Linked DNA regions of Homo sapiens: region 2 is linked to region 1. The links are contacts of gene promoters, found by promoter capture Hi-C in human tissues and cell types (Jung and others, 2019). All regions are on one chromosome and are shown on one strand. Each heading gives the region's core, a stretch centred on a gene start or on the middle of the fragment in contact. The rest is flanking DNA. Distances are from core to core; before and after follow the strand shown.

What was found. The method cuts DNA at HindIII sites, captures the fragments that hold promoters and counts their contacts. A contact is called where the count stands out against the background at its distance.
Region 2: a fragment that was not itself captured here is called in contact with the fragment with the promoter of RUSC2 in region 1 in 1 of the 25 tissues and cell types used here (dorsolateral prefrontal cortex).

Annotation. Positions count from the first base shown.
Region 1 is chr9:35,488,817-35,493,292 of GRCh38, forward strand. It overlaps RUSC2 (RUN and SH3 domain containing 2), which reads left to right and starts at 1,295. Exons shown (of 12, transcript NM_014806.5): 1 at 1,295-1,356. LOC105376026 (a long non-coding RNA gene) reads right to left here and starts at 2,811. Exons shown (of 2, transcript XR_929580.4): 1 at 2,615-2,811; 2 at 2,303-2,440. RefSeq lists a silencer at 964-1,263. The HindIII fragment of the contact is 10,278 bases long and covers 1-4,476 here.
Region 2 is chr9:35,744,142-35,748,771 of GRCh38, forward strand. It overlaps GBA2 (glucosylceramidase beta 2), which reads right to left. Exons shown (of 17, transcript NM_020944.3): 1 at 4,205-4,630; 2 at 474-565; 3 at 156-271. The coding sequence starts at 4,563. Among named protein-coding and RNA genes, the nearest start is that of GBA2, 2.8 kb to the right of the region's middle. The HindIII fragment of the contact is 5,426 bases long and covers 1-4,199 here.

The sequences.
Region 1 (4,476 bases), core at 45-2,544:
AGTCAGTCTAATTGGTTGCAGATAGCCAATTTCCCATCTGCTGGGCAGAAAAGTTGGGTGGGGGGTTTGTTACTTAGGTGTGGAAAGTTAGGGTTTTCCTTTCAATTTAGTTCCAGGAAGTTGGCATGAACCAGTCTTAGGTTCCCTGCCTCCAGTCCCTATTCTCCTGCCTCAGAACCATCACCCAACATCCCTAGTGGGTAGCAGGGGAGAACCCTCTCCTGCCCCGCTCATGCCTAACTACCTGTAACAGTTTGGCTGTGTCCCCACCCAAAATCTCATCTTGAATTGTAATTCCCATAATCCCCCTGTGTCAAGGGCGGGAACAGGTGGAGGTAATTGGATGATGGGGCTGGTTTCCCCTGCGCCCTTCTCGTGACAGTGAGTGAGTCCCACAAGATCTGATGATTTTATAAGCGTCTGGCATTTCCCTTGCCTGCACTCACTCTGTCCTGCCACCCTGCGAAAAGGATGGCTACTTCTTTGCCTTTTGCCATGATTATAAGCTTCCTGAGGCCTCGCCAACAATGCGGAACTGTGAGTCAGACCTCTTTCCTTCATAGTATTTCTTCATAGCAGTGTCAGAACGGACTAATACAGTGGGTTTCCCATAACATTTGCAGGACTGCCTGCCCCATCCCCCTCTGGCTGTAAACAGCAGGAGTCACACACAGGCATCTTCCATGTCCCCCACACATCCGGCCCTGAAGGGCAGGGGGCGCATGGGTTCTACGTTTCATCAGGGGTTCCGAACCCTGGCTATGCACTGGAGGCCAACCCCACCTCACCCCACCCCACTCCACCCCAGTGGTTCTGAGTCGGTCCAGTGTGAGGTCAGCCCTCCTTCTGTTGTTTGGTTAGTTTCCACACTAGGTTCTACTGGGAAGCCAGCGTTGAGAACCGCCGCCTCAGGCGAAGCTGGGACTCACACCCACCGGCCCTGGAGGCCCGCGGAAGGTTTCCCTGGGTTCCAGCACCCGGGAGCCGCGCGTCGCCAGGCACCACCCCGCGGGGGCGGGCGCGGGCCGCAGAAGATTGGGCCACGGCGGAAGCCTCTCCGCTCCCTTAGCGGGAAAGCTCTGCGCGTGACTCGGCTGCGCCCATCGCTGCGGGAGCCGGGGAGGGGGCGAGCACCTTAGGCCGGGCGGACCGAACCAACGCGCCGCCCGGAGGGGCGGCCTGAGGGCAACCCAGATCGGACCATCGCGCCACGCCGACAGGGGCCGGCCTTTCCAACCCGCCCGGAGGGAGGGGCCGCCGGCGCCTCTAGCCTGCAACGCGACCCCTGGAGGGCGAGACACGCCGCCGCCGCCGCCGCCGCCGGCGCGGAAGGACGAGGCTGAGGCGAGAAACGAGGTAGGAACGCCTCTCCGGAGGCGGGCAGGGTCCCACAGACCCACTGCCCCGCGTTCCAAGGTCTCCCTTAGGGGAGGGCCTGTCTTCCCACCTATGTGCCTTCAGCGCCTGCCCTTCCCTTCAGCCCTTCCCCCTCGGCTGCACCCGCCCTCTGCGTCCGCCCCGACCCCCTGGGCAGACCTCGTCCCCAGCCCTTCTGACCCTTGGCCTTCTCCTGACCCTTCAGCTCTGCGTCCACCGGACCTTCAAACACCCAGCACCCACCGTCCCTTTGGGCGCCACCCCAGATGCATCCCCAACCGTCTCCTCAAACTGCCCCCTTGGGGACACCCTCCCCCCACAAAACGACTCGCGCCCAGTAGTCACCTTGGTACCCCAAGTCCCTGTGACGGCTTTGGGGAAGCGTGGCCGCCCGGCACCCAGGCCGGCGACTGCAGCGGGGGCCTCCCTACTGCCAGTTCCCGGCCGGGTCCTCTGCTCCCTCCACCCTTTTAGCCCCTGCCTCCCTTTATTATCCGCCCGGCGCCGGCGTTGCTTCAGTCTCTGTCTCTCTGTCATCCAGTTTTACCTGGAGAAAACCTTTGGCTTGGCAGTAACCGTCCCCTACTACTGCACTCACTTGCCGCGAAGGGCACGGTGATCCTGTTGCCCACAGTTGGCTGTGGCCCTCCAGGCCGGCCCTGCGGACACGGGGAACTGTCCTGGGGGCAAGGACGGTACACTACTCATCTTTGTATCCCCGGTCCCCAGCACGGTGCCTGGCACATGGTAGTGTTGCTGGTGGAGGGTCTTCACTACCAGTTGTCCTTTGCGTTTTGAACAAGTAATTGAGCAGCGGAGGAATGAAACGCAGGAACAAGTAGATCTGAGTCAGGCAAGGATTACCACTATGTGAACAGTGTCCGTGATAAAGAACACAGGCCTTAAAAAAAAAAAAAAGGCGGAATTTACAAAGGACAAAGGGCCTGAAACCTGTTTTTATTTATTCCTAGGTGGGTGACCTGAGCAGATTTAGTTTCCTGGGGGTTTGGGTTCCACGCGGAAGCAGGTGGTATCGCTGAGGGATGAAACAATGGCTGGAAAGCTGTAGGAGTTGATAAGGTAGAAAGTAGTTACCTAATTAGTAGTGGCATTATTGTAACTGGGGCTCAAAGTATTAGCAAATAAAAGTAGTGACTGGATTTTCTTAGCCGGCTCCTTAGATATTAAGCAGTGGTGGATGGCTTAATGGAAGGAAGAGCAGATCCAAACAGTATACCTGGTATTCTGTTAGTTATGCCCGTCCTGCTGTATGGCCAGCCACTGTTTCTCTTCTGTTTTGAGCCAGGTTAGGATCCCTCTGATTTCTGTGCTGGTATTTAAGATTCCTTTTTGAAGCCACAGTTGCCTTAACTGGAGGCTGGACATGTTCTCATTCATCCATTGCTAGTTTTGATGTATCCTTTTCCGCTTTCTGTCTCCCACCCTCTTACATGTCTTTATAAAGTCTTGGATCAGGCCAGGCACAGTGGCTCAGCCTGTAATCCCGGCACTTTGGGAGGCCCAGGTGGGCGGATCACTAGAGGTCAGAAGTTCAAGATCAGCCTGGCCAACATGGTGAAACCCCATCTCTACTAAAAATACAAAAATTACCGGGCATGGTGGTGTGCACATGTAGTCCCAGCAACTCAGGAGGCTGAAGTCCCAGCAACTCAGGAGGCTGAGGCAGGAGAACCCCTTGAACCTGGGAGGCAGATGTTGCAGTGAGCTGAGATCATGCCACTGCACTCCAGCCTGGGTGACAGAGCAATGCTCTGTCTCAAAATAAAGCCTTGGATCATAGAAACCCAGTGTGGGGAGGGGCTCCTGATCTGGATGGATTAAGCAATACAATTTTTTTTTAACAGTATCTTTTTAATGGCCTTTTCTACTTTTTCCTGTCTAGGCTTCCTGTTAAGACCTCAGTTACCCCAGAACACCCTGGGTTATTTTTCTCCTCACCTCCAATACTTCAGTGTTGCCAGATAAAACGCAGAGTGCCCAGTTAAATTTGAATTTCAAATAAACAACAGGGAGTCCTGTATTTTTACTTGCTAAATCTGGCAAGTTCATGGGAGGGCTTATGTGTTCTATTTTTCTCTCTGGGCTTATCTGCAAATTTAGGATAATAACTCACCCTTTTCTTCCTGTTACTCATACACAATGACTATGCACCCTGCTAAAAGTCACTTGACTGAAGAGATGGTTCACTTCATGTTAGGGTAAGGGCAGGCTATCTAGAAATGGTCTTGATTGATCAGTGTTGAAGTTACCCAGGAAAAAAAAAAAACACCCATTCAGACATTGGCATTTAATATAATTTTTGTCAAATGAGTCCGTCATACGAAACGAGAGCATCATTTTGAGTAGCCAGATGTCAACATTGCTCTGATAGAGCTAGGTGATGGGGTAGAAGGGAATCCTAACAACAACAAAATAACTCAGCAGAACCTGTGCTGTACCATATTTACTCTTTATGGTGGTAATATATATATATATAACATAGAATTTACCATTGTAATAATTCTTAAGTGGCATTAAATATATTCACATTATTGTACAACCATTACTGATAACAATCTCCAGAACTTTTTTTCATCTTCCCAGACTGAAACTCTGTACCAGTAAGATGCTAACTCCCCATTTCTCCCTACTCCGCCCCAGGCAACCACCATTCTACTTTCTATCTTTGAATTTGACTACTGGGGGTACCTCATATAAGTGGAATCATGCACTATTTGTCTCTTTGTGACTGGTTTATTTCGGTTAGCATAATGCCTTTTTTTGTTTTTTGGGTTTTTTTTTAACTTTTATTTTAGGTTCAGGGGTACATATGAGGGTTTGTTATATAGATAAACTCATTTCACAGGGGTTTGTTGTACAGATTATTTCATCACCCAGGTATTAAACCTGGTACCCAATAGTTATCTTTTCTGCTCCTCTCCCTCCTTCTACCCTCAAGAAGACCCTGGTGTCTGCTGTTTGTTTCTTTGTGTTTATACATTCCCATCATTTAGCTCTCACTTATAAGTGAGAACATGCAGTATTTGGTTTTCTGTTTCTGTTAGTTTGCTAAGGATAATAGCCTCCAGCTCCATCTAT
Region 2 (4,630 bases), core at 237-2,736, 260 kb after region 1:
CTAGCTCAGGGCTGGGCACACAGGAAGCATCCCGAGAGTACTTATTAGATTGAATCTTATTCACATCTAACTGCTACCTTCTACACTAGCCAAGAGGTCCTTCCTTCTTGGCCTGGGGAGGTATTGTCCTGGCCTCTCCACCTCCTGGCTCTTACTTGGTCAGCGATGACTGTCCGGTGCTGATACATTCCAGGGTTAAGCTGCCAACGACAGAACTGGCCTCTCCAGCCACGGGTAATAGTGCCTCCCCCGATGCCACCCAAGGGACAACCTAGAGAAATCAGGGTGGTTAGTGGGGTATTGGGAGAGGAAAATAAGCCCATTTCTAACTTTCTAGACTATAAAGCCTGGTTCCTCTGAAAACCTAGGGGATGGAACAGTGCAATTTGCATAAGCTGGAAGTCTCTTCCTAACTGTGGTAGACCTGGAGGCTAGGCCTTCTCTGAGCAGAGCAGAGATGGGGTGGGGCTCACCATAAATCTGTCTTAGGGGTACAGAATTGATCATGTCGATGAAAGGTGTCTTCTTTTCCACATGGGTCTTCCGGTACCACCACTGCAGGTACCTGAGGAGCAAGAGGCAATGTGAGTGGAAGGGGGCAGGTGGGCAGCTGTTCACAGGCTGAGTCACCTGCCTCTCTCTGTGACCTCCCATTAAATGTCCCAAGGACATCTGCTTTCAAACCTTTCTTCCTCTTGATTTCTATACAGTTCAAGGTCCCTTCATCTTCCCAGTCACCCCAGCTGAAGTGAAGGAGTGGCTTTGTTTCTCTCCTTTGTTCTCCTCAGAAGGGGCTTTCTGATCTCTCCTTACCTCTCTAGCACCACCACCACTGCTTTATTTCCAACATCAGGAGCTTCTGTCTGACGTGCTGAAAGGACCATTTATGGTTTCCTGGCCTACAGCCTCCGCCCCCAATCCCCTACCTCCAAAACAGGCATAGGCTGCTGGGAATAACTTTCTTATCTTTATTTTTATTATTTATTATTTTTTTTTTGAGACAGAGTTTCGTTCCTTGTTGTCCAGGCTGGAGTGCAGTGGCTCGGTCTTGGCTCACTGCAAACTCCGCCTCCCAAGTTCAAGAAATTCTTCTGCCTCAGCCTCCCAAGTAGCTGGGATTACAGGTGCCCGCCACCATGCCTGGCACATTTTTTTGTGTTTTTAGTAGAGATGGGGTTTCACCATGTTAGCCAGGCTGGTCTTGAACTCCTGACCTCAGGTGATCCGCCCGCCTCGGCCTCCCAAAGTGCTGGGATTAGAGGCGTGAGCTACCGCTTCTGGCCTTTCTTCTTTTTAAAATGATCATTTTTCTTTCTAATTATGAAAGGTGAAAGGGGGAAAAAAATAATCTCACCCATAGACAATCAGTGTTTATATTTATTTCTGGACATTTCCTCTCAAGCCTTTTTTTTTTTTTTTTTTAAATTCAACATTTAAACTGTGAAGCTTTCTGATTTTGCTCTTGGTAAAGCCTTCAAAAAATCCCAACATTTTCCTGGGCTTGGTACAGCCCTATATCCAAGAGGCAAATGATTGAGGCTGTTTTCAATAGGCAAACGATTCTGTTTTCAAGGCTCTGACATCTGTCCCAGCCTATCTTCTAATCTTATTTCCTACAAATTCTCATTCCAGATGGGTCCTCACTAAGTAGCCCCTGCCCTGCCAGACTCTTTCCCATTTCCACTCTCCTGCCTACTGCCACATTATGCCTACTGTTCAGTCACACCACTTCTAACCAAATAATTGGGTAAGTAACCCCTAAGTCCCAGTTTCCTCATCTACAAAATGGGGATACCACCTGCTCTAGCTATCTAATGAAATGGTTGAAAGATCAAATGACATAATAGATAAGAAAGCCATAAAGTACAGGTATGATTATTACTCATATATACAAACTGTTATCTCAATTCCTAATCAGACATTGCCTTGTTATTTCAATGTTCCTCATGTGAGGCTGACATACTTTTAAGTTCCTTGGGGAAAGGGACAATGACAAAGACTAGCTGAATATTACCCTCAGGTCCAAGCACAGGGTAGGACATATGGTCTGCAGTCAATGCATATTTGCCAATTTTACAGATGAATGAACATACAAATGATGGGGCACAAGAGAGATAACAGACTGGAGCAGAGGAGAAGAAATGTGATTAATGAATAGGGACAGCGGCCAGGCACGGTGGCTCACACCTGTAATCCCAGCACTTTGAGAGGCCGAGGTGGGCGGATCACGTGAGGTCAGGAGTTCAAGACCAGCCTGGCCAATGTGGTGAAACCCCGTCTCTACTAAAAATACAAAAACATTAGCCAGCTGTGGTGGCAGGCACCTGCAATCCCAGCTACTCAGGAGGCTGAGGCAGGAGAATCGCTTGAACCCAGGAGACGGAGGTTGCACTGAGCTGAGATTGCACCATTGTACTCCAGCCTGGGTGACAAGAGCAAGACTGTCTCAAAAAAAAAATAATAATAAAATAAAAAGGGACAGCACATTCTAGGGGTGGAAAGAAGAGGGAAGACAAAGGATGGGATGACAGGAAGGCAGAGAATCCTCTCTGCCAGCTTAGAGAAAACCGGACTTTGAAACTAGAGACCAGAAAGGACTGGTAGAGGGAGGGTGTGGCCGAGGATTAGGGCAACCAGGGAGAGTAACTGCAATCTATGAGGACAGACAGAACAAAGGACTATCTGGCATGGAACAAGCACTCAATAAATATTTATTGAATGAGTGGACTCTGGCTGGAAGGGAGAACAATTGAAATTGAGTTCTTACGAAGGTAAGACCCAGAGAATTCTGTCTTGCTAGAGCTCCTGGTCAGAGTGCCCACAGTTCAGCTCCATCTTAGGAGCTCTCTTACTCCCTTAATATGGTAGCTGGCCATTCCTGACCTATTTGGCCTTCTCCACAATTTCAACCTCAACTCAAGAGTTATCACTTAGAATTCTTGTCTCACCTGTGCTTTCTCCTCATAGGAACTCATCCTATTCCAAAAGCCTTGTATCAGTACCCCCCACTCTATCCTGGAATGGGGAGCCAGGGTCCAGGGGGTTGAGCACAGCTTCAGGCCTCTATGACTCAGTTCATATTTAAGGGCTAAGAGGCTAGGATGCCCATCTTTTCTTGATCTCATTGTTCCTACCACATGCAACTCAGTGTACTTCTCTATGTACACTAGATCCTATTTTGATGCAAAAACTTTTGGGGTCAAACTTGGACTGAATTGATTCCAGAAGCAGCCTGGAGGGATGATTCTTCTCTGCTACAGGCTACCCACAGGCACCAACAAAGCCAGATGTGCAGGCAGCATCAGGCCCTTCCCACTCCCCAGGGCTAGGGTTAGATAACTGATCTCCCCATCACAGCCCCACAGCACTGACTGGGGAAATGAAGGGTCTCCTACTCTAGAAACTGTAAGGGCAGGGTTTCCCAAGCTTTATGCCTCCCTCCACAGTTCTGTGTGTATTGTGTAGACTGAGTCAGGATGACCTCAGGGTGATGCTTTCTGTCCTCACATCCACCTGTTCCTGTTAATGGGTCTGGCTCCTCATCACTAGTCTTTGAACTCAGTGGGGATCTAGATGGGTTCTACATCTATGGCAGTGCCTCTCTGATAAATGACTTAATATCAAGAGCTCTCTATCCCAGAACAGAATGACAGCACCTTCTCATCACTTCAGAGGTGAGGGCAGGGAGGCTCTTCTTACCTACTCCCTGGAGCTAAAGCTTGAAGAAAGAAGCAGTAGTGTTGGGACTCTAACAGTGTGTCTAATGAGGTACAGAGAATGCCCCAGCTGCTTGTGGGAAATAAGGGGTTGAGACCCCCCCACCCCCAAATAAAACAACATTGTGTTAGTATCACAGCAGCCAGATTATCCTTTCCTACCTTGCCACAAAGTATAGCTAATCCCAAAGGGAAGTCATTGGAAACCAGTATGTGAGAAGAGCCTGAATGGGAAAGGCTGATTGCATGACCAAATGTTCCTACCCTTTCCTTCTGAAAAGACAAAACACTGGGAGGGAAGGGTGTTGCAAAGAGATGTGACCTGGTCTCACGGTCCAAAACCACAGGCCTAAAATATGCCAGGGATAGGGACCGCTTCACTCAGACAAGAAGCCCAACTGCTTTCTTGCCCTTTCCCACCTCTGCTAGAAGTTTTGAGCTGGAACAAAGTGAAGCCAAAGGCATTCTAGGCAATGGGGTCTACTCACCTCAAGCCCATGCCTATATGCTTTATCATGTTGCTTAGGGAGACGTTGTTAGCTTGAAAGGGTTTCCTCTTCTCTGTAAACTCATGAGCCAGACAGATGCGCCAGCCAAAGGGAGGCACCTGGTAGCCCATAGCTTTACCCTCATAGGAAACCATCAGCTGCCCAGAGTCCTCCGGATTGCAGCAGTCCGTCTCTTTTGGGGGTCGGCTGTCTTCGGGACTCTTACAGTCTGTAACCTGCACATCCTTGGTGCCGCCAGTCTCTTCAGGGCAATAAACTTGTGGATCCTCTTTGGCACAGCTTATCTGCTCCGAGGCTGGGACGCCGGTTCCCATGTTCCCTGGATCCTGGGTCCCCATGACCTCGATGGCGCCAAGTCCCGAGCCCTCGGATACTAAGTATCTCGCCAGCCTATTCCAGATGCGG